Linked DNA regions of Homo sapiens: regions 2, 3, 4, 5, 6 and 7 are each linked to region 1. Evidence: promoter capture Hi-C in 16 types of primary human blood cells and fetal thymus (Javierre and others, 2016). All regions are on one chromosome and are shown on one strand. Each heading gives the region's core, a stretch centred on a gene start or on the middle of the fragment in contact. The rest is flanking DNA. Distances are from core to core; before and after follow the strand shown.

Evidence for each region. Contacts are between HindIII fragments. The CHiCAGO score rates a contact against its expected background, and 5 or more counts as called.
Region 2: a contact is called between a fragment that was not itself captured here and the fragment with the promoter of WSCD1 in region 1, in 1 of 17 cell types (endothelial precursors). The highest score is 8.0, in endothelial precursors.
Region 3: a contact is called between a fragment that was not itself captured here and the fragment with the promoter of WSCD1 in region 1, in 3 of 17 cell types (endothelial precursors, total CD8 T cells and M1 macrophages). The highest score is 8.2, in endothelial precursors.
Region 4: a fragment that was not itself captured here is called in contact with the fragment with the promoter of WSCD1 in region 1 in 4 of 17 cell types (endothelial precursors, M2 macrophages, naive CD8 T cells and 1 more); the score reaches 7.0 in endothelial precursors.
Region 5: a fragment that was not itself captured here is called in contact with the fragment with the promoter of WSCD1 in region 1 in 2 of 17 cell types (M0 macrophages and naive CD8 T cells); the score reaches 6.7 in M0 macrophages.
Region 6: a contact is called between a fragment that was not itself captured here and the fragment with the promoter of WSCD1 in region 1, in 3 of 17 cell types (endothelial precursors, M0 macrophages and naive B cells). The highest score is 6.5, in endothelial precursors.
Region 7: a fragment that was not itself captured here is called in contact with the fragment with the promoter of WSCD1 in region 1 in 2 of 17 cell types (endothelial precursors and M0 macrophages); the score reaches 10.0 in endothelial precursors.

The regions. Positions count from the first base shown.
Region 1 is chr17:6,068,668-6,071,931 of GRCh38, reverse strand. It overlaps WSCD1 (WSC domain containing 1), which reads right to left and starts at 1,553. Exons shown (of 9, transcript NM_015253.2): 1 at 1,280-1,553. RefSeq lists an enhancer at 1,486-2,317. The HindIII fragment of the contact is 6,207 bases long and covers 1-3,264 here.
Region 2 is chr17:5,588,303-5,591,566 of GRCh38, reverse strand. No RefSeq gene overlaps it. Among named protein-coding and RNA genes, the nearest start is that of NLRP1, 5.4 kb to the right of the region's middle. The HindIII fragment of the contact is 371 bases long and covers 1,363-1,733 here.
Region 3 is chr17:5,605,030-5,608,293 of GRCh38, reverse strand. No RefSeq gene overlaps it. Among named protein-coding and RNA genes, the nearest start is that of NLRP1, 22 kb to the right of the region's middle. The HindIII fragment of the contact is 3,240 bases long and covers 52-3,264 here.
Region 4 is chr17:5,629,118-5,632,381 of GRCh38, reverse strand. No RefSeq gene overlaps it. Among named protein-coding and RNA genes, the nearest start is that of NLRP1, 46 kb to the right of the region's middle. The HindIII fragment of the contact is 3,470 bases long and covers 1-3,233 here.
Region 5 is chr17:5,654,873-5,658,136 of GRCh38, reverse strand. No RefSeq gene overlaps it. Among named protein-coding and RNA genes, the nearest start is that of NLRP1, 72 kb to the right of the region's middle. The HindIII fragment of the contact is 3,094 bases long and covers 1-3,030 here.
Region 6 is chr17:5,675,760-5,679,023 of GRCh38, reverse strand. No RefSeq gene overlaps it. Among named protein-coding and RNA genes, the nearest start is that of NLRP1, 93 kb to the right of the region's middle. The HindIII fragment of the contact is 4,030 bases long and covers 1-3,264 here.
Region 7 is chr17:6,420,965-6,424,228 of GRCh38, reverse strand. It overlaps AIPL1 (AIP like 1 HSP90 co-chaperone), which reads left to right. Exons shown (of 6, transcript NM_014336.5): 6 at 1-491. Among named protein-coding and RNA genes, the nearest start is that of AIPL1, 13 kb to the left of the region's middle. The HindIII fragment of the contact is 7,641 bases long and covers 1-3,264 here.

The DNA of each region.
Region 1 (3,264 bases), core at 304-2,803:
CTAGAAACCCTGAGCTCTGGCAGCCGGTTGAGGCCCCTTCCCGGAGGATCTCCTGAGGGCCAATCTAAGTGTGTGGGGGTGGGGGCATGATTGAGAGAGACAAACCTCATTCTCCCATAGCCCAAGGAAACCTCCCCTAGCTCTCTCCCCAGCACCTGCAGCCACCAGGAGTGGGTGATTGCAAACAGCGCAGGGCAAGCCAGCTTTATATCTCCTGTAACTTTCACTCCCCACCACCCTCACTTTCTGTGCCTGACAACCTAGGCAAATCAGAGGAAAAAAGAAAGGCCCCCACTCCTGATGCCAAAGTGGGATAAACCAAGTGCCTCCATAAACCTAAGCATGCTGTTCCAGCAACAAGAGGGATGCGGGTATCTCATGTTAGAAAAGTACAGCGGAGTCCTGCATCTGTCCATCTTGGGAGCTGCAGGGGCAGGGCCAGTGTGGGGAGCAGCTGGATCCCAGTGCAGGGCTATGAGGCTAGAACTCCTATATGAGCCTTCCCACTGCTCAGCGGAAGGAAGAGCGGTCCCCTTCCCCACCCGCATTCCCGATCAGCAGAGCAGGCATCATCCCAGGCGCACAAATGCTCAGGAAAACCACCAGCGAGGTTACCCGGAGGCAGGGGACCCAGCCAGGTACGTACGCTCCTGAGTAGCCAAGAAAAACGCAATTTAGCAACCTTCAGTCGTGAGTCTCCGTCCACACCTACGAAGACGCAAAGCTCTACACTAGGTAATTTTCTGGACAAAATACATACGTTTTGCTTTTGCCTCTGCCTCTGTTCAAGTTCACCAAGAGACGGAGCAAACCCTCCGCTGACCGGAAGCCTCTCTTGGTAGCGGAACGAGAGGGAGCTGCTTCTGGGTAAACGTCGCCGCCTAGGAGGGAAGCTGTGCGCACCCCACACCCTGCCCTCGCCCCCTCCCCGGGACCAACCGCAGCGCCCTCCCGGGTGACGGACGGGCTCTCAGGACTCCGGAGGGGGACGCGGCTCGTGCGGCGCCTCGCGCACCCCCACCCCATCCCGGCCGCGCCGAGCGCCGCCCCCGCCCCCCCACAACCCCTGCACGCACCCGCTCACTCTCCCCTGCCCCGGCCGAGCCGCCCCGGGCCCCCGGGAAGGTGCCCCCGGCAAGCCCGCCCTGCAGCCGGAGCAGGTGCAGCCCCGCCGCGCTCCCAACCGCGTCTGCACAAACTTGTTTGCCCGCGGCAAGGGGAACACCCTGCTCGCAGCCCGCGCGGGGGTCCGGCTGGAGCGCCGAGAGACAGGACTCACCCCGCGATCGCGGCCGGCTGGGGCGCCCGCACCCGCGCCCATGGCCCGCCTTCCCCGGGCGCCGAGCCCGCAGCCCCCCGCAGTGCCCGGAGCCCAGAAGCCCCGGCGCCCGCACGTCTCCGGCCGCCCGCGGCAAGCGGACCCACGCGCCCGGGCACAGGGCGCCGCCGCCTGGCTCCCCGGGGCTGCTGGCGTCCGGGCTGAACGGCGGGGCGGGCGGGCGGGCGCGGAGCCGGGGCGGGCAGCGGGCGGGCGAGCGGGCGCCGGGCTCTGCACATGCTCACTCGCGCGGCCCGGGGACAGCGGCCGGCCGCCGCCGGGTCCTAGAGGCGCCGGTGCGCACCTCCCGCCGCCCGGGGGAGGGGTCGCGGCTCCGCCGGAGGGGGCCCACGCCCTGCCCCGGCCCGCGAGAACACGCGCGCGGGGCGGGCCACACGCGCCACTGCCGAGCAGAGACGCCGCCACCCACTCTGATACACACACACACACACACACACACCAGTCACCCAGAGCCACAGCCTTTCACCGGGGCCCCACGGGCTCTAACACACGCACCATGACGCTCACACCCAGACACAGACCCACAAACACACGGGGCACTGCCGCGCAGAGGAGAGCACGCCGCCACTCTCCCATGCAGACTCACAGCGACAGCCGCACACTGCCTGACACACACATCCCGAATCACTGCTTCCCAGAGACACCGACACCCACACTCACACACACACTCTCTGGGCTCTGCCCCACTCACCCAGAAGCAGACTGGGCCACTGTGACAGGCACGCACACGTACACACACAGCCACACAGTTTAGAGTGCACTCTAATACACACACACACCACACACGCACGCACACACACACACACACACACACACACCGGATCACCGTCCCATGCAGAGCTAGAGACAGACGGTCACAGCTTCACACACATTCACACTCAGAAACAAGCACCTGCTGGAACACAGACACTCTCACACAATCTGAGACAGACCTACACAGAATTGCAGCCCTACAAATACCCTGACACCAGCTCCCGCGTCTACACACTCGGGGGTCGGCCGCCGGCTTATCATACTGCTCCACACCGCACACAGTGACAAACCCACGCCTTGACATAGTTGCCCACAGAAGCAATGTCACACACTGGTGTCTACTAACAGACACACTCTCAGAGGGGCATACTGGGCATTGACCCACAGGCTCTCTCTCTCTCTCTCTCTCTCACACACACACACACACACACACACACACACACACACACGCACCGAGGTGGAAAGAGGCTGAACAGTCACACAAGTCTATACACAATCCCCCTCTTTAAATAAAGGCTGGATCCAAACCTAAAGATTTTTCCCAGGGAGGAGCCCCACCCTGTTCCCCCAAAGCCGCCAAGTCACAGCATCTGCCCTGCTCTGCCATGTGCACCGGTGGACCCTGTCCTCACCCGGAGCTGGCTGCTAAGATGCTCCCAGAAGCTGAGGACAGCAGAGGCAGCAGGAGCAGGTGGTGGTGCCTCTTACTCCGTCTTCCTAAAAGGGAGTTTCATGCCTCCGACTCCCGCTAGGGGCAGAGCTGCTTGGCCTGGCTCCGAGGAGCTGGCTTGCAACAGGTGCAGGTGGCAGGGAAAGCGTTTGCCTGGGGACCAGTCACAGTCCCTCCTTACGCGGGTCAGTCAGGTGGCGCCCAGAGCGGGAAGAGACTCGCTGCAGTTTGCATAGCTATGTCTGGCCAAGTGCAGAATTAGAACAGAGTCTGCACCATCCGCATGAAGGCAGAATGCTCTGAAGGTCTTGGGGCACCTGGATTTAATATCCTTAAGCCCAGGAAGAGGATACAGTAAGTGAGAGACGAATTCTGTGCTGCCTCAGAGTCCCAACCTTGCAGAAAAGCCCCCTTCACATATATATCCTTTACAGAATGTGAATGTGTGTGTCGTTACGATTTATAACAGCAACCCACTGTGCAGTCTCGCAATGCTGTTTGG
Region 2 (3,264 bases), core at 299-2,798, 480 kb after region 1:
CAGTGAGCCGAGATCGTGCCGCTGCACTCCAGCCTGGGGGACAGGGTGAGAGAAAAAAAAAAAAAAAGAAGGAAAGGAAAGGAGAGGAGGGGAGGGGAGGGGAGGAAAGAAAGAAAACTGGATTCAACCATTTTGTGTACTCACAGCACATTGTTCTGGAGCGACTCAGTGAACAAATTTACATACATATAAAGATACATGATAAAATTAAAATGTTATTACCTTAGTATGTACAGCAAGCAAAATTAAAACAAGAGTAGGGAGAAAATAAGATGAAACCAGGAGTTAACACTGTAGACATATCATGTGCTTTAAGATTGAACTTGGCATGTACATTTTTAAGAGATGGGCCAAACCTCTGACTTGAAAACCTCCCAGAAGACAAATAAAAGATGCATGAGTCTAGTTGCTTGATGCCGTGGTTGAAAGACAAAAATAATGAACTCTCAAGAGAAGCATATTTCTTTTTTTTCTTTTTTTTTTTGAGACGGAGTCTCACTCTGTCGCCCAGGCTGGAGTGTAGTGGCGCAATCTCGGCTCACTGTAACCTCCGCCTCCCGGGTTCACGCCATTCCCCTGCCTCAACCTCCCGAGTAGCTGGGACTACAGGCACCCGCCACCATGCCCGGGTAATTTCTTTTTGTATTTTTAGTAGAGATGGGGTTTCATCATGTTAGCCAGGATGGTCTCAATCTCCTGACCTCGTGATCCGCCCACCTTGGCTTCCCAAAGTGCTGGGATTACAGGCATGAAGCACATTTCTGAACCCAAATTTTTATATGTGTGATCTCTTCAACCCAGAAATTCCTTTTCTGGGACTCTGTCCCTTGGAGGTACTCACATGTGTGTGATAAGATACACTTGTGTACGAAGTTGGTTATCACCATGTGGCTGGTAACAGGAAAATGCAAATGAAAGCCAGCTAGATTTCCATCAAATTTGACTAATCAAATAAATTATAGTAGATCCAAACTATGAAAAACTCAACAATTACAAAAAGAGAAGAAAGAACGACTTAGATCCATATGTACTAACATGGAGGGATCTGCAAAATATTTTAAGAGGAAAAAAATTCACTCCTAAAAAACTTAGATCCTATATATTTGGCACATAGAAAAGTAACTGTGTTCATGTAAAACTGTGTTTTTTTTTTCGTGGAACACTGAAACATTCATGTAACATTGGTTATTCCTGGGAAGTAGATCTGATGGTGCAGAAAGTCAAAAGAACATTTTTATTTTTCCCCCTACATATTTCTGTATTATATTTTTATAATCCTAATAAATCTAAACAACAAGATGAAAATGTCATTTTAAAAGTTACATGTAATTGGATAGTAGTATTGCATCAATGTTTTAAGCTTCCTGAATTTTATCATTGTACAGTGGCATATAAGAAAACATCCTGATTCTTAGTAGATACTGCCAAAGTTCTTAGAAGTAAATGTTATGGGCCAGTTGTGATGGCTCATGCCTGTAATGCCAGCACTTCGGGATGCCAAGGGGGGGGGGGGTGCAGATCACCTGAGGTCAGGAGTTCGAGACCAGCCTGGCCAACATGGCAAAACCCCATCTCTACAAAAATACAAAAATTAGCCAGGCATGGTGGCAGGCACCTGTAATCCCAGCTACTAGAGAGGCTGAGGCAGGAGAAACGCTTGAACCCAGGAGGCAGAGGTTGTAGTGAGCTGACAATCGTGCCACTGCACTCCAGCCTGGGCAACAGAGCAAGCTTCCATCTCAGGGGAAAAAAAAAAAAAAGAAGTAAATGTTATCATATCTGCAACTTACTCCCAATAATCAGCAAACACAATTAAAAGATAAAACAATAGTAAATGTTAATAATTGGTGAATGTAGGTTAAGGTTATATGGGAGTTCACTGTACAACTCTTGACATTTTCCTGTAAGTTTGAAATGTTTTCAAAGTAAAAAGGGTCTCTGAAAAGTTATGCATGACTTCCTCCGTTTAGCATAGAGACCTGGGTGTGCCTTGCCTGGTTTCTAAGAGGACCTTATTGGTGGGTGTTTTAGGCCTATAAAGCAGGAACAAGTCATTGTTCTTTACTGAGATTTAAATGCAGTTAAGATCAAATGAGAATACTCAGAGTGAGAGATGCGTTCTGTTGTAACCGATGTAAATTGACTGTGACCTTTGGCTATCGTGTGTTCTTGGAAGATGGTGATGCGGGTATGTGTATTCTTGTCCAAGTTCACAGGACATTAAAGCAGACCATGGTAGGGGCAACACCAAGTCCTAATATTTCCTTCACTTCACACTGGAGGAAAGACTAGAAGGAGGAAGAGGAGTAACAGGGAGAGGAGGAGGGCTGGATGAACTAGACTATGTTTTTTAACAAAAGATTTCACCTGTTGATGTTCAAAGCACCGTTTTATCTAAGCCTGAAACACACCAACTTGGGGGAAATGAATTGTCAAACTATTGAGATGATCTTGTTGGGTCCATAACACTGTTGGATACAGTGAGTTCCTTTTCAAAGGTTCCGCTTGTTCAATTCTCTCATTCTTTGTCCTCTATTTTCAAAGCCTAACTGTTCTGCCTCCTTGCCCCTAGTTACAGTAAACAACCTTCCAGCCGTTCCCAATCTGTAACTCACATCCATTCCCAGTCTGTAACCCACATCCATTCACAATCTGAAACAACCCACATCTGTACCTTATTTGGCCAAAACTGCTCTTCCCGCTGCTGTAGCCCCCACCCCTGCTCCATTTGAAGTAGCCAATCAGGATCAGCTTAGACTGCGCAGTCCAACTCCAGCCAATGGGGCCCGGACACAGCATCAGGGACTGACTGGGTCAGGGATAAAAACCCCTTCCCTCCTTTGTTCAGTGTGCTCTTGCAGTGGCCAGAAGGGCAAGCGAGACCCTTCTCCAGAAGTAAATTTGCCTTGCTGAAAAAATCCTTTATTTGAGTGCTCATTTTCTCTGTGACTCCGAGCTTTTATTTCCAACAATACCAAGCACACACCTGAAGGGACTAGATATTTCCATGTCGATCATCCTGGAAGGAGGATAATCCTGGGGCCTGTGCTAGGAGTGATGTGAATGTAGGACAGCTTGTTCTCTTTCTAAGTATTAGAGCCAGAGGGTCCTGGCCTCCAAAGGGCAGAGGAGGCTGCAGAATCTTGAGGCTGGGCAATGACCTGCCTGTGTGTAATGGAAAGCACCAGAGCTACAGAGGGCTCCAGCTGGAAAAGGGATAGCAGGGATGATCCTGGACCAGAGAGGGCTCTGAGGACAGTGTGA
Region 3 (3,264 bases), core at 422-2,921, 460 kb after region 1:
CAAAAATGTCTGACCCTCCCTCTCCCAAGAGTCTTCTGGGTAATCAAAGCTTGCAGCACATCCCACAAATATCTGCCTTTGCAGCCTTGTCTTGCACCCAGCATGGGCCCGGATAGTGCAAGGCTGAAGCACTCAGTGTTGGATAGCAAAGTGCTGGGTGGTGCAGTGGTTAAGCGTGGGCTTTGAGGTTAGCCCTGACCAGATTTGCCTGCAGCTTTGCCTCTTCTTAGTAGTAGTGTGGTTTTTGGCAAGTGAGCTCACCTCACTGATCCTCAGTTTTCTCACCTCTCAAATGGGCAAACAAGTAATATGTATCCTCAAGTACTTTTTTTTTTTCTTGAAACAGGGTCTTGTTCTTTCACCCAGACTGTAGTGCAGTGGCATGATCATACTTCACTGCAGCCTCAAACTCCTAGGCTTAAGCAATATTCCAACCTCAGCCTTCTGAGTAGCCAGGACCACAGACACATGCCACCATACCTGGCTAATTTTCTCTACCTTTTATAGAAACAGGGGGTCTCCCCATGTTTCCCAGGCTGGTCTCTAACTCCTGGCCTCAAGTGATCTTCCCGTGTTGGCCTCCCAAAGTGCTAGGATTTCAGGGCTGAGCCACAGTGCCCAGCCCCCACGTAATTTTTGAGGATTAAATAAGATATAGAAAACACTTAATCCAGGCCAGGTGCGGTGGCTCACGCCTGTAATCCCAACACTTCGGGAGGCTGAGGCAGGCAGATCACCTGAAGTCAGGAGTTCGAGACCAGCCTGACCAACATGGTGAAACCCCATCTTCACTAAAAATACAAAATTAGCCGGGCATGGTGGCGCATGCCTGTAATCCCAGCTACTGAAGAGGCTGAGGCAGGAGAATCACTTGAACCCAGGAGGCGGAGGTTGCGGTGAGCTGAGATCGCGCCATTACACTCCAGTCTGGGCAACAAGAGCAAAACTCCGTCTCAAAAAAAAAGAAAAGAAAACACTTAGTCCAATCCTGGAGAGTAGTAATAAGTCCTCACATGTTTTCAATGGTGACGTGTCAAACCCCTCACCGTGAGGGTTTCCATATCCAGGCTCTCCCCCTCCTGCCACCCTTCCCTTTGGTGCACTGCTTCCTCCCTGAGGCAGCCTAGCCAGCACTTCAGAGCATGAACTTTGGGCTCCACGGCCCCATCTTTAAGCCCTGGCTTCTCTACTCACTAAGTCTGCAAACACAAAGACGTGTCTTAGTTCTCCAGGCCGTGGTTGTCTCATGTGTAGAATGGGGATAATAGTGGCATATGCCACATCCGTGCTGTTAGGAGGGCTAAGTGAGACAGCGGCAGTAAACCACCGGGCACATGGGATGTGCCCCTCAGTGCCGAGTCTCAGAACTCTGCTAGATGCTGTGGGCAGGAGGACTAGAACAGGAATGAGGTCCATGCCCCAGGAGCTTGCAGTCCAGAACTCCATGCTGGCAAAGAGGCGTCTTGGTCCAGGCTCACTCTGCTCAACATTGGGGTGAGCTGGGGCCACAGATCTCTGCACTTCAGCACTCCTTTACCCCATTCCCCTCCCCCTCCTTCACTGCCATCGTCAGCCAAATCCTGTTTCCTTCACACCTGAGATCCACAGACAATTGGGCTTAAATCCGCACTTTCTCACTGTGTGACCTTGACCTTGGGCATGTTGCTTAACCTCTCTGAGCCCATTTTCTCACCTGCAGCTGTAGGGACCAAATAAGATGGAGCAGGCAGCATTCCTAGTCCAAAGCCTGGCACTGTTTCCAGGTTGAACTGTTCCCTCCATCCTTACTTTCGGTCCTAAGTGCAAACTTCTCTCTCTGCCATCTCCTCTCCAGATATATACTGTGCCCAAACACTTCTTCCAACACAGTGTGCCCTGTGGCTCCTGTTGTATTGGAATCAGAGTCTTCTGCATTCCACATCTTCTCTAGAACCACTCTTTCCATTTGCATCTTAGGGTAGAAACAGTGGCTCTCTCCCAATGTTAGCTCTCCTCACTGGGGTAGATTATTGTGTTTATGGCTCCAACTTTGTTCACTCTTTCTTTTTTTTTTTTTTTTTTTTTGAGACAGGGTCTCACTCTGTCACGCATACTGGAATACACAGGTACAATCACAGCTCACTGCAGCCTCAACCTCCCAGGCTCAGGTGATCCTCCCACCTCGGCCTCCTTGGTAGCTAGGACTACAGGTGCCTGCCACCACACCCAGCTAGTTTTTGTATTTTTTTTTTTTTTTAGAGATGGGATTTTGCTGTATTGCCCAGTCTGGTCTCAAACTCCTGGCCTCAAGTGATCTGCCCACCTCGGCCCCCCAAGTGCTGGGATTACAGGTGTGAGCCACCACACCCAGCCCTTTCTCCATCCCCTTATCTTCCCCTTACCTGATTCAGTACTTGCTGTGTGACTTGCTTCAGCCAATGGGACAATAGCAATGTGTGGCAAGAAGATATTTGGAAAGTGTTTGTGCCCTGGGGCTTGTTCTCTCTTGTGGCTCTTGGAACCCTCAGACAATCAGAGGAAGAGCGGCTCCAGTCATCCCAGCCATCTCAGCAAAGATGTCATAAACCCCACAACCCGAGCTGACCTATGAGCTGACCAAAAATGCAGGAGAGATTTAGGCCCAACAGAAGAACCATCCTGCTAAACACAGCCCAAATTGTTCACCTACAAAATCTGAACGTAATAAACAAATGATAGTTTAAGCAACTAAAATTTAGGTGGTTTGTTACACAACAAAAGCTAACTGAGGCCGGGCACAGTGGCTCATGCCTTAATCCTAGCACTTTGGGAGGCCAAGGTGGGTGGATCACCTGGGGTTAGGAGTTCAAGACCAGCCTGGCCAACATGGTGAAACCCTGTCTCTACTAAAATTAGAAAAATCAGCCAGACGTGGTGGCAGGAACCTATAATCCCAGCTACTTGGGAGGCTGAGGCAGGAGAATCGCTTGAACCCAAGAGGCGGGGGTTGCAGTAAGCCAAGATCATGCCACTGCACTCCAGCCTGGGTAACAGAGCAAGACTCCATCTCAAAAAACAAAAAGAAGCGAAAAAAAGCTAACTGATACACCCATGCCTACCGTGCAGCACTCAGGTGTTTTGGATGGCCTCTAATTAGTCTAATCCAATCTGGATAATCCCAGTCTCCTTGCCACAGGCTCTGGGATGAATAGAATTGAGCCAGTCAGCACACGAAATCCACCAGCCACCAACTTGTTCAGGAAAGGGCATGGGATCCAATTCAAGCCAATGAAACCACAGAGAGGT
Region 4 (3,264 bases), core at 249-2,748, 440 kb after region 1:
AGATTAAGTGTGTTTGTGGGAAGGGGGCAGAAAGACAGCTGCTCTCATGACCAAGAAGGTTCTACATGCTCTAGGGAAGCTGGTCCCATTAAGGGAAGTTGCTCTACCTGCACTAGCAGATGGAGAGTCCCTGCTGACTGGCTGCTGGAGGAAAATCACTGCCATCCATTTCTGTTCCCTAATGAGAGATGGAAGTCTGGGACCTACACACCTCGTCAGCACCGTGGAGAGTTGCCTGCTCTTGGGCCTATAGAAGACAGTGGGGCTCTCAGTCTGGTAGGAAGAAAGGAAGCAGAGAGAGAGAACAGAGAAAGGAAGAACAGACAGAGTGAAAGCCAGAGAGGGAGAGAGAGAGAGAGGAGTGAAGAACAGAGACAGACAGATAAGCAGAGATGGAGTACAGGAGTCATAGAGATAGACACAAAGAAAGACACACAAGCAGACATACAGAGACTCAAACTAAGAGAGAAAGAAACAGCAACATTGCATAGAACAAGGACTTTGATAGAATTTAAACCCTAGATTCAAGCCCCAGCTCTTTAGCTCTCTTGAGTTATACAGCACAAATAAAAGCTAACATGTATCAAGCACTTATTATGAGCCAGGCTCTAAGTTAAGTACCTCCACACATCACAGTCTTTGATCCTCACAACAGCCCTACAGAGTGGGTACTAAAATCATCTTGATTTTTCAAATGAGGAAACAAATCATGTCAGCTGGGTTTCCACTGCCAAGGAAGCACTCTGCAACAGAACTGGGGTCTTCTCTCCTGAGAACCATGCGTGGTTTTTGGCTACTAACATCGAAAATGCCTTTTACATCCCCTAATGCAGCTGCCTCTTTACTAAGGCAGGTTCTCCCTAAAAACTGAGGTTCATCTTCCCATACTCTACTTAGTTAAAAGAAGCATGAAAACACCAAGGCTGTCCTTACCTCAAGACTTTCACACTTGCTGTTCCTCTTGCCTGGAACCCTATTCCCCAGATCTTCAGACATCACTACTTCATATCATTCAAATCTGCTGCAGTGTCACTCCCCAAGGAGGCCTTCCCTGAATTCCCAATACAAACATCACATACACACATGATCACTCCACCTCTCCTTACCAGGATTATTTTATTTGTGTATTGTTTTCTAGCTCTCCCACGAGAATATAAGTCCCAGCAGGCATAGGACTTTATCTTCTTCATAGTTGTATTTCTAACTCCTAAAAGAAGGCACTCAATTAATATTACTGAATGAAATTTGAATGAATGAACTCTTCTTCCTGGAACCAAGGAGTATTGGTCGGATGCTGCCCAGGAGCCAAGAGCTTTAAGCTAGAAACTAAGGGAGATGTGCCTCTGACTCCATCCAGGATCCACACTGGAGGCCCCATGGGGAAACAGTCAATAAACTGAGTCTTATCTGGACTTTATGGTATTTCGTTAGAGAATGTGAACACTGGATCATGAGAAGTCACACAAGGGGCAGGGTGTCACAGCATCTCCATTAAGCAGCCATCTCTAATGGATGCTGTGGGATGCTGCCCAGATCCTCCTTTAGGACAAAGGCACTCATCCCTCCAGCTCCTGGAAATGTTGGTGGCTGATGACTCCCAGCTGAGTTGCTCTCCTGGAATTGCCCTCTACTGAAGAGCAGCCTCATCCACAATCCCTCCTCCTACTTCCCTGGGGGACAGCTGCATCCGATGATTGGTCAGTGAAAGGTTCCAAAGGGCTGACTCTCCAGCCTCAATTCAGGACCATGCCAAAGGGCCGCCTCCACTCCAGGGCTCCCCAGGGGAGTAGCTGAAGCTCTTTTGCAGTTTTGTCATAGCTCAACTCCTTCCTCTGCCTAGTCATGCTTCCTTTACCAGATATTGATCATGGAGGCACTTCCTGATAAACTTTGTGCATTTGGAGATTCATCTCAGAGCTATGTGCCAGGGAACCTGACCCAAGGCACCATAAGTACTCATGCCTTCTATCCTTTATCTGGACAGCAACAATGAGGAGAAAGCTCTTCCTTACACTCACCCGAAATATGCCTCCCTAATGGTGTCCTCTCATTCATAGCCATCAGTTCTTTCCCTCAGGGACACACAAAACAAGTCAAATCCCTTCACCCCCAATAGACTCTCAGATATTTAAAACTGGTCATCGTGTCTCCTGAGAGCCATCTGCTGCCCTCTCCAATCTAATCAACTTCACTTTCTTCAACCTTCTAATATGGAACATCCACATTTTCCTGCTTGCTTTTACGAAATTCCCATTCCCCTATTGAAGTGCATCAATTACAAAAACAGAACACGTGCCCCATGTTTATGTAATACCCCTTTATGTAACCACCACAAGCACCGGTCGGGGCCACCTTGATGCTAGAGGCAAGGACCCCTTGGGTTTGGGCACACTTGGAATTATTTTTCTATTTTGGTCACTTCTCCTGAAACTTGAGTTCTTTCCTTTGGAAAAGAGCACATGTAGGCAGACCATTCCCCCAACTTGGGCACAATCACTGATCATTCTTTTCATCAGAGACTTTGCTCTTTTGTTCTAAACTACAATTTTTGACCAAAATGAATCTAGCTCTTCTGTCACCCCACAGGGGTAATAGCTAAGAATCTCGCTGGTGGCAGAGACAATCTTTCCTTTTTATAACTGGCTTCGGTCAAGTTGCAAATCGAATGGATACTGCTCTGTTGGGGGACTAAGAACACACTGTAAAACAGGCTGTTGTCTTTAAGAAGAAAAAAAATCTCATATTAATGGGCAAGACACATGTTACTATGACTACGGTTTTTAAAAGATTATGAGCAAGCCAAATGTCTTCTATTATTCATAAAGAAAAAATAATGTTTTGCCATCACCCACTGATGTGCCCTGCATCAAGATACACTGCCTTTTATTTGAATGTGTGGAAGAGAACAGCAGTTCAATGTATTTTGTCAGCGTCGTTAGCTTCTCCGGAGAGAATATTGGAACACTGTTGATGACGGAGCATCCATTACGCTGCAGACAACTTCTTCTGAAGCACTAATTTTCTCAGTATTGTGCAATCTAACTTGTGGATCTGCACTGCACATCAGCTCCGCAGTAATGCAATAATCAGCTGTAAGCATCCTGCTTCAGCTAAAACAACAGGCTTGGAGAGGCACGCATCTCTGAGTAGATTTACACACTTGAATCAGAAGGGCTTTTGACTAGCTCAGGCTCCAAACAGGAGTGTAGTGGGGAGATGGGAAAGGGGAAGCTTTCAGAGTGTGGAGAGCTGATTCGGAGGCAC
Region 5 (3,264 bases), core at 234-2,733, 410 kb after region 1:
GGTTGCCCAAAGCCCAAGGTCAGGTCATGTGCAGATTTGTCGTCAGTGCTTTGGGCAACATGAACCACAGACCTAAAACAGTAGCCAAAATCCTTCCCCATCACAAAAAGGAGACACAGAACATCAGGCAAAGGCTTCTTTCAGTTCTCCCTCCACTTAAGCAGCGAAAAGGACACCGTGCTCCCCACCAGGCCCTCAGGTAGAGTCCAGGTTCTGCCACGTAAGTCATGTGGCTTTGGGTAAAGCAGCTCAACTCCCTGAACTCAATGTCTTCATCTTTAAAGTGGGAATGATACCTCCATCCCCAATCTCGACACAGCCCAGCTCCCTGCTTCAGACCTGGGGACTGTGGATTCTCACCGTTCCCTCTCAGGCTCCCCTGAGAAAGAGAAGGCTCACATGGCATCCCCTCCCTCCCTTCCTGATCCCCAACCTCCACCTCCCAGCCCCAGATCAAACCCAGTTTACCAGGAGCCAAAACAAGGAGCTCAGTGCAATGGAAAAATCAGCCCAAGCAATTGTCTGACCAAATTGACTTGTCAGTCACCCTGCCCAGACAGGGCCTGGGAGAATCACCTGATCTGCACACAGGAAAGAATGATTTGTAAGCGTTGAGGCCAGGAGGAAAAACACCCAGGAAAGCCCCGACACAGAGACAACAACTCAGTCTGGGTTTCCATAGCAATCCCAGGAGGAACAGGAGGAGCTCATGCCAGGATCATTCAAGAGATGGCAGCCAGCAATCACCTTGCTCCGCCATCCACCGCTGAGCCATCTGCCCCACGTCACTGAAGCAACAGGTTCCCTCTGCAAAGCCACCAACCCACGTGCCCAATCATCCAGCCCCAGAAAAATTTGAGATCTCCCCACCCTCTCTCCAGAGTCTGCTATGGTTTGGGAGAGGAACCCTAAAGCCATGTCCATACAATAATACATGGAAAATATGTGCAATCTTTTTTTGTTGTTGTTGTTGAGACGGAGTGTTGCTCTGTCACCCAGGCTGGAGTGCAGTGGCACGATCTTGGCTCACTGCAAGCTCCACCTCCTGGGTTCACACCATTCTCCTGCCTCAGCCTCCTGAGTAGCTGGGACTACAGGTGCCCGCCACCACGCCTGGCTAATTTTTTTGTATTTTTAGTAGAAACGGGGTTTCACCTTGTTAGCCAGGATGGCCTCGATCTCCTGACCTCATGATCCGTCCGCCTTGGCCTCCCAAAGTGCTGGGATTACAGGCATGAGCCACCACGCCTGGCCAATATGTGTAATCTTAAGTAAAAACATTACATCTACATATTTGTTCTGAGAGTCTAAGAAGAAAGAGCTCAAGACAGCAGAGCTTGCCCCCCTAAAGACTAGCATGTTTTTATGGCAGACACACACCTCAAAATCAGGACCGTGAAAAGTGAGTTACAAATAACTCACTTTTCTTCCTCTGAGAAGTATTAACTACCTCTGAGATTTCAGCATTTAAAACGGTTCTTTTCCTTATGCACTTTGACTTGATCTGTCTGTAGCATTTCTTATTTGGCAATAGGTATTTCCTACACCACCTGCTCTGGAAATAATACGAAATATACTCCAGGTGTGGCAAAGTCCCTCTGTTCTGTTCCAAGTGTGTTTTTGATTGCTCGTGGTACAGGCTGAGGGAGGGAAGTTTGCTAAAAATTTGGGAAATTCAGTAACTGTCGCTGCCTCCTGCACCCGCGGTTGGGGTCTTCTCTACACCTTCTCTTCCACCCTTGCTTCTTTCCAGCTTCTATCCCTTCCTTTGGTGACCCATTGGGTCCTTCTGTTTTGTTAAGATGCTCCCGCTGGGTGCCAGCACAGGCTCTCCCCAACTCCATCCTTGCTGAGTCACAAAGTAGAAGGTGTGTATGGGAGAAACTGGGTGTGGGGTATACGGGAACTCTCTGTAATATTCTTGCAACTTTCCTATACATCTAAAACTATTCTAAACTGAAACAGTTATTTTAAAATAAAATAACCAACCAAAGAGGAGGGTGCGGGCTCTGCTCCCAGGAGCGAGGAGAAAGCGTGGCCTGGAATCCTCATTCAGAGTTTACGTAAGGCCCAAAGACACCACATCAGAGCAAGTCATAATGTTTCCCACATGAGAAAAGGTTATTCCTCCTGTTAAGACAACATTGACCTTGTCCTTTAAGAGAAACTATTCCAGCACATTGTTGTGCTAAGAAACATTTGACTCTGCATTCCCACTGTGAATGACACCCTCTCTGAGGGCATGGCACCAACTCTGACTGGCGTGTTTGTTTCAAATCTCTCTCTCTCTCTTTCTCTCTCTCTCTCTCTCTCTCTCTCTCTCTCTCACACACACACAAACACACACCCCTACTCATTATAATGGAGGGGGCAATGCATCTTGCCACATCATAAAAATTGAACTTGCATGGGGTTAATAATTATTTGAATAGTGTTACATCATAGTGTGTTATTATAATTGTTTGAATGTCTTGGATATAACAGAAGTGGAGGACCTATCACCTCGCTGAACCTGCACAACCTCTCCCTGAGGCAGGCATTGTGACCTCCATTTCACAGCTTGGGAAGCTCATTCAAAGAGGAAGGCCGTTTGCCCAAGCTGTGAGGTTAGTCCATGGTGGAGCTGAGATCCAGCCCCAGGCCTCTCTGCCTCCAGGGCCAAGACGGTTCTCCCTTATTCCACAGCTACTCCAGGCACGGTTTTCTCTTTCGACCAAACAAGACCCAAATTTCAGCAGAGACTCCTGAGACGTGCTGAGGATGGGGGAGATTCCCTGTGTCCATCATCCCAGAGCCAACGCTCTTCATTGAACAACTGTTAGAAGGAATCCCATGTGCTCAGATACATTTCACCTGATATTCTAACACAAGACAGCGGGGGCATCTTGTAGATATTGCTGAATTGGGCAGGAGAAAGCTCCTACCTGAAGTAATGTAACCAAAAGCCTTGCCTGGTTGGTAGGAAACACATCCGGGTTCAAGGAAATGCACCTGCCTGTTCTGACCACCAAGTTCTGTGTGGCCCAAGCTTCTCATCATTTAAGCATGAGCTTAAATGTCACCTCTCAGAGAGGCCTGCCCTGAGTCCCTGATCTCATGCATGTCCTCCTGTGAATCTGAATAGCTTCTAGAGCTTTTTCATAATAACAGCTACCATCATTTGTGAATTTATACTTATTGGTGAGCTCATAAGATTTTTTTTTCTTTTGAGATGGAGTCTCACTCTGTCGCCCAGGCTGGAGTGCAATGGCCTGGTCTCGGCTC
Region 6 (3,264 bases), core at 495-2,994, 390 kb after region 1:
AGTCTCATTCGAATATCATCTAAATTAGATATGGGTGAAACTCAAGGTCCAATTCATCCTGAGGCAAATTCCCCTCCTTCTCTGAGTCTGTGAAATCAAAGTTAAATGCTTACAAAATACAATGGTGGTTTGGGCACAGGACAGACATTCCCATTCCAAAAGGGAGAAATAGTGAAGAAGGAAAGAGTGACAGGTCCCAAGCAAGTCCAAAACCTTAGGCTTGAGAAAAATCTTCTTTGGCTCAATGCTCTGCCCTCCGGGCCCACTGGTGTGGAAGTCTCATCCCTAAAGGCTTGCAGGGTAGAAGTTGGGCACCCAACTTCTAAAGCTGCCCTCACAGCTTTGCTGGATACAACCCCTGCCACAGCTCTCACAGGTTGGAGTTGCGTGCCTGTGGCTTTCCAGTGCTGGAATCACACACTGATGCCTCTACTGTTCTGGGGTCTCAGGGTGACCTTTCCACCTTGGTACTACTAGGCATTGCCCTACCAGCGGCCCTCTATAGTTTTCTGCCTGGGTGGCACACCCATGACTTCAGGTGGCTCCATTCTTAGAAATCTAGGTGAAGGTAGGCTTGCCCCCACAGCTCATGCACTCTGAGCACCACGCAGACACAGCCAAAGTCTGCTGCCTGTGCTTTCTGGATGGGCAGCCAAGCAGCAAAACCCTGGAATGCAGTGGAGTGGAGCCTGTGATATGAGGGATGCTACACAAAGCCTGCAGGGGTCCAGCAGGCACCTGCAGCCCGTCCTATGAAGTTGTTCTGATGATCTCTGGAGCACCTTGCTATGGAAGGGGTTCATTCTTCCATCGTCTTGAACAATAGCCCCTGGCTTCTGTTCAGATGGCTGACAAAACTCCATGTAAGATGTGGCCATTGGGCCACACCCTTAAAGTTCTTTAGGAACAGACCTTTTCATTCTTTACAATATGGAAAGGCTGAGAAGTTTCCAAATCTTTAAGTTTGGCTTTCTTTCTGATTAAGAATTCCATCTTTAAGTCATTTCTCTCTTTTTTCATTTTACTATAAGAAGTCAAGAGAAGCCAAGCTGCTCTTTCAACACTTTACTTAGATATTTCCTCAGCCAAATATCCAATTTCATTACTCACAAGTTCTACCTTCTACAAACTACTAAGACACAAACACAATTCAACTAACTTCCTTGCCACTTTGTAAAAAGGATGACCTTTCCTCCATTGTTCAATAACATCTTCCTCATTTCCATCTGATGCCTCATCAGAATGGCCTTTACCATCTGCTATGGTTTGAAAGTGTTCCCCAAAGTTCGTGTGTTGAAAATTTGATCTTCAATGCAGTAGTGCTGGGAAGTGGAGGCTAATGGGAGGTGTTTGGGCTATGGGACCACTGCCCTCATGAATGGATTAGAGGACTTTTATTATCCTGGAAGTGAGTTCCTCATAAAAGGATTAATTTGGCCCTTTCTTCTCTCTCTCTCTCTCTCTCTCTGTCATCTTTCACCATGGGACGACACGGCAAGAAGGCCCTTGCCAGATGTCAGCACCTTGATATTGAACTTCCCAGCTTCCAGAACTGTGAGAAATTCTCTTTTCTTCATAAGTTACTCTGGCATTTTATTGTAGCAGCACAGAATGGGCTTAGACACCATCCATATTTCTACCAGCATTCTTGATTACTTAGGTATTCTCTAAGAAGACTGAGACTTTCCCTACAGCTCCCCTCTTTTCTTTCTAAGCTCTTACCAGAATCACTCTTAATAGTCTCTTCACAGCAATGTAGGCTTTCTCTAGCATGCACCTTAAAACTCTTCTAGCCTTTCCACATTACCCTATTCCAAAGCTGCTTCCACAGTTTTAGGTATTTGATACAGCAGCACCCCCACTTCTCCGTACCAATTTCCTGTCTCAGTCTGTATGGGCTTCTATAATATGAACTAAAAACTCCATTAAAGCAAAGTCTGTGGGTATTTTGCTGACCCCAGTGTCCTAGAACCCAGCAAAGCCTTTCACATAGTAGACACTCAAATAAATACCTGTGAGTGAATGAACGAAGGTGTTCTCACAGCTGTCTGCCTTTGCCCACTCATACAATGGCTCACCCAGTACTGAAATTTACTGTTGAGCTCTCAGCCCCAGGAAGCCAGAGACTGTGTCTGTAATGTTCAGAAAATGTCTGAGGGACACAGCTCATGGCTAAAGAACAGAAAGGCCCTCATCATATTGACTGACTGAATGAACGAAGAGGAAATATAACTCTGCATACAGGCTTCAGAGTTAGATATGGGTGTTCTGGGAGTGACCTCGAGCAAGTTACTTAATCTCCCTATGCCCCAGTTTCTCATCTACAAAATGGGAATGATAAGACAGCTTTTACCCGTAGAGTTATTTTACGGATTATATTAACTAGCAGTTGTGAAACCCTTAACACAATGCCTGGCACAAAGTCATCACGTAACTGATGCCTAATAGTAACAGTTGTTGTTATTATTAGGCTCATTAATACTCGTCAAGAACAGGTGCTCAGAACAGGCTAGCATCCCTTTAGGCAATGAAGAGCATCAACTTCTGTTGAAGCTCTTGTTGAAGCATGAAATTTCCTTCCTTCCCTTTATGCAAAAAGACAAAAAGCATGTTCGATTTAGGCTCGAGCAAAGAGCTCTATATGAGACTACAGGAAGGTGAAAATGACTTCATTTTCATTCATCTTCCCTGGGCTTTTTCCTCTGAACTGGCAGCAGAGCTTTAAGCATTTGACATTGGCTTGTCCTGATTCATTACCCTGGCCATTTCCTGCACACCCTCCTCTGCCAGCTAAGTTGTAAAGCACGGCTCCAGATGGTCCCCATCAGAACTTGAGGGCTCACCACACAAATGGAAAGCACCTGGGTTGCCTCTCTGCTACTTCTTGCCTTGCAAAGCTATTTCCTTCCCTGATATGCTTTTTTGTCTGCCATCCCCAAGAAACACTACCAGCCCTCCATTGTCATGTGGAAATGACCTCCAGGTAATGGCTTTTAAAACACCAAATTGCATCAAGTACAAGGGATGCTGAGAGTCCCATCTTCAGCAAGGAATTTTCCCCTGTTTGGTTTGGCCATCCAGTGGAGCATTAGACAGCAGTTTAATCATTATTACCGGTGCTGCACTGCGACTCTCTGGAGAAGCACTAAACTGGAATGAAAAGGAACTGACATAATTAGTCTGACACAGTTCAATAGGGAACTATTACACCAAAGGTAATGAGCTCCCATGATATGTTAATGTTATTGTAAGAAATTATGCTGG
Region 7 (3,264 bases), core at 427-2,926, 350 kb before region 1:
TTCCACTCGCCCCTGTTTTAGCTCATCTTCAAGTTAGTCTGGTGTCCAAGCTCCACCGCCTGCCTCAGTCTGGTGACCTCCTTCTGTGTCTGATGAGCATGGCAGCGTTGGGACCTTCCCCTTCCAACTCTCTCCCTCCTCTTCGTCCTCCCTAAAGGACGGGTACGAGGAGGGGCTATCACGCCAGCGACATCCTCTAGCACCACCCAGGTGTGTGGGGTGGGGCAGGGGGGCGACGAAGTATCCAGCCCAGGGCCACGTAGTCAACTGCCAAGGGCTTCCTGGGCTTCTCTTCTGCCCCAGAGCTTGTCTCCACCCAGCAGGGGTTCCCCCAGCGCTAACTGTATCCCTAAAGTTCTGATGTACTTTACTTTTCCATCTTCCTTGTTGTTAACATCTACCTTCTGCTCTGTAAGCAAAACTAAATCTTCTGTGCTTTGTCCATAGGTTGATTCTACAATCTGAAAATCAATAAACAGCATTTGCATGATTGTGGCTGTGTAGGTGTGTTTCCCCACAGGGCCCAGCGCAATGCTTCCACTGCATTGCTTTCTCTGTGGTTCCAATTTCGTGACCCCTGGGACACCAGAATGAGGATATTTCTGGCATCTGGAGTGATAATGTACATTTTAACATGGCAGTGTTTTATGTTTTTCTTCTCTTCTCCTCTTCCTTTTTTCTTTTTCATTTTTTTTTTGAGATGGAGTCTCACTCTGTTGCCCAGGCTGGAATGCACTGGCTTGATCTCGGCTCACTGCAACCTCCAACCTCCACCTCCCAGGTTCAAGCAATTCTCGTGCCTCAGCCTCCTGAGTAGCTGGGATTACAGGTGTGTGCCACTGTGCCTGGCTAATTTTTTGTATTTTTAGTAGAGACGGGGTTTCACCATGTTGGCCAGCTGCTCTCGAACTCCTGACCTCTGGTGATCTGCCCACCTCGGCCTCCCAAAGTGTTGGGATTACAGGCGTGAGCCACCGCGCCCGGCCTCTTCTTCCTTTTTTCTTGCAGTACTAGAAGGTTTGATGTGTAAGCCTTCCCACCCTTGAAGAAAAGGGGTTTCAATTTTTGGATGATTAGGCTCAGTAGTCCAGTGGGCCATAGTATGAAGGAACCACGTGAGAGAGGAGATTTTAGAAGAGGTCAGAGGAAGGGGATGTTATGGCCTGCAGAGGGAGCAAGGCAGGTGTGTCCTGAGGCCAAAGCGAGTGCCTCGAACTGCAGAAGGTGGAACAGGGAGGGAGGCTGGGGCCAGAGAGCCAAGGGGACCTTCACTGCTGCCTCCTGGCAGCGCTGCCTACGGGGAAAGGCCTGGATGTTGTCTGGGCAGCCAGAGTCGAGTGTGGCTCAGAAACAGATGAGGGGCCTGGCAAGGGGCATTACTTCGGGGCCAGGGACTGTGGCTCGCAGACTTCCCAGTCTCCTTTGCCCTGTCCATTGTCTGAATGTAGCTATCCTACCAGCTACCCTTTCTTTTGGGGACAACGAGCAGCGAGGGTGCCCCCCTCATTTGTGGTGAGAACGTGGCCTGTGGGCTCCCTGGCTGGACAGAGGCCCGAATGCAGCCTATGCTCGGGCTTGGTCCTGTCCGGCTCATCCCGTGTGGACAGCTCCCCTTCTGATGCCTCTGGATGTCTGAAAACAGGAAAAAGGGGATAGGGACCAGGAAGCCCATAGCATGTGGTGGAGATACCCTGGAGAGAGGGTGCACAGGGACCCTTGTCCTATTGTTACAATCCTCTGAAGGCAGAGGCTGGGCCAGTAGAACCACTGTTCAGAAACTGCCGCATCCCACACCCCATCTTCCTAGTGCAGAGGAGGCGGGAGGCAGACATGGGGAGAGATGCAGGCAGCCTCCCATCCAGGGCTCTGGTTGCTGCATGGGCTTCCTTCTGCTCCCTGAAAACCAACCTAAAGGAAGGGCGTGGCTGGTCAGGTCTGGGCGGGCAGTTGCAATAGTTTGCAGGGCCTCTCTTCCAAGGGCTTCTTTCCCGGAGATCCAGCCGGAAGGCTTTGTTTTCAAGTTGCCAGCAGGTGGCAGCAGAGACCAAGCAGACGGGTCCCCAGGGTAGGAGATGGCCGCTTTGGGCTCCGGATGTGGCGGTTCTCCATCAGCCCTGACCATCCCTGACGCTGCAGGTCACAAGGTCAGGCAAGCTGATGACAGGAAAGGAGGCATTTAGAACTATGGAATGAGGCTGCCAGCAAACTAGGTCCTTGGAGGCAACTCAGTCCCAACCCCTTGTACAGATGGGGAAACTGAGGCTTAGAGAGGGGCAGTAGCTCCAGGATTAGCATCAGGTTTCCAGGAGTCTGGGCTGGGGCTTTCTTTTCTTTTCTTTTCTTTTCTTTTCTTTTCTTTTCTTTTCTTTTCTTTTTTTTCTTTTCTTTTCTTTTCTATACTGTGCTGCCTCCTTCACTGGATGCTTCGTATGTGGGTATGATGCATTTTTTTTTAAAAAAGGAGAGAATGTGAAACTTCTATCAGGCAGCAACCTGCGGCAATGCCAATAGCCTTTGTTTGGGAGCAGTTGGAAGGGTCAGCACGAAACGACCTTGTGTGGGTTTTGAAGCCCCCTTTGGCCTGGCACGTCCTCAGGAATCATTACTAGTTAACCAAACCAAGGCATTTGCTCCCAGGCAGGAGCCACCATACTGACCTCTGGAGTTGACAGACACCCTGAGACCAGGGAGTCCTTTGGGTCAGCAGTAAGGGGCTGAGTGGCCCGAGGGACACCCCCTTCCTCGGGTATTGTGCAGGGGCAATAGTTTCCCATGGTGGATGCAGCAAATTACCACAAACTTAATGGCTTAAAACAACACACACGTATTCTCTTATAGTTCCAGAGGTCAGGGATTCTAAAACGGGTTGGCAGGCAGGGCTGTGTTCTTTCCAGAGGCCGGAGGAGAGAGTCCATTTTCTTTCCTGCCTATTTCAGCTTTTAGAGGCTGCCTGTATTCCTTGCCTTGTGGCCCCTTCAAAGGCAGCAATGGAGCATCTTCCACTCTGCGTCCCTCTGCTTCCGTCACCATGAGGCTTCTGCGGGTCCCTGACCCTCCTGTCTCCCTCTTATAAGGACCCTTGTGCTTACATTGCCCCCACCTGCCAGGTAATCCAGGCTCACCTCCCCACCTCAAGGCCCTTAATGTAATAATCACAGCTGCAAAATTCCTTTGCCTTAGAAAGTAACCTGCTGGGCGCGGTGGCTCACGCCTGTAATCCCAGCACTTTGGGAGGCTTAGGTGGGTGGATCTCTTGAGGTCAGG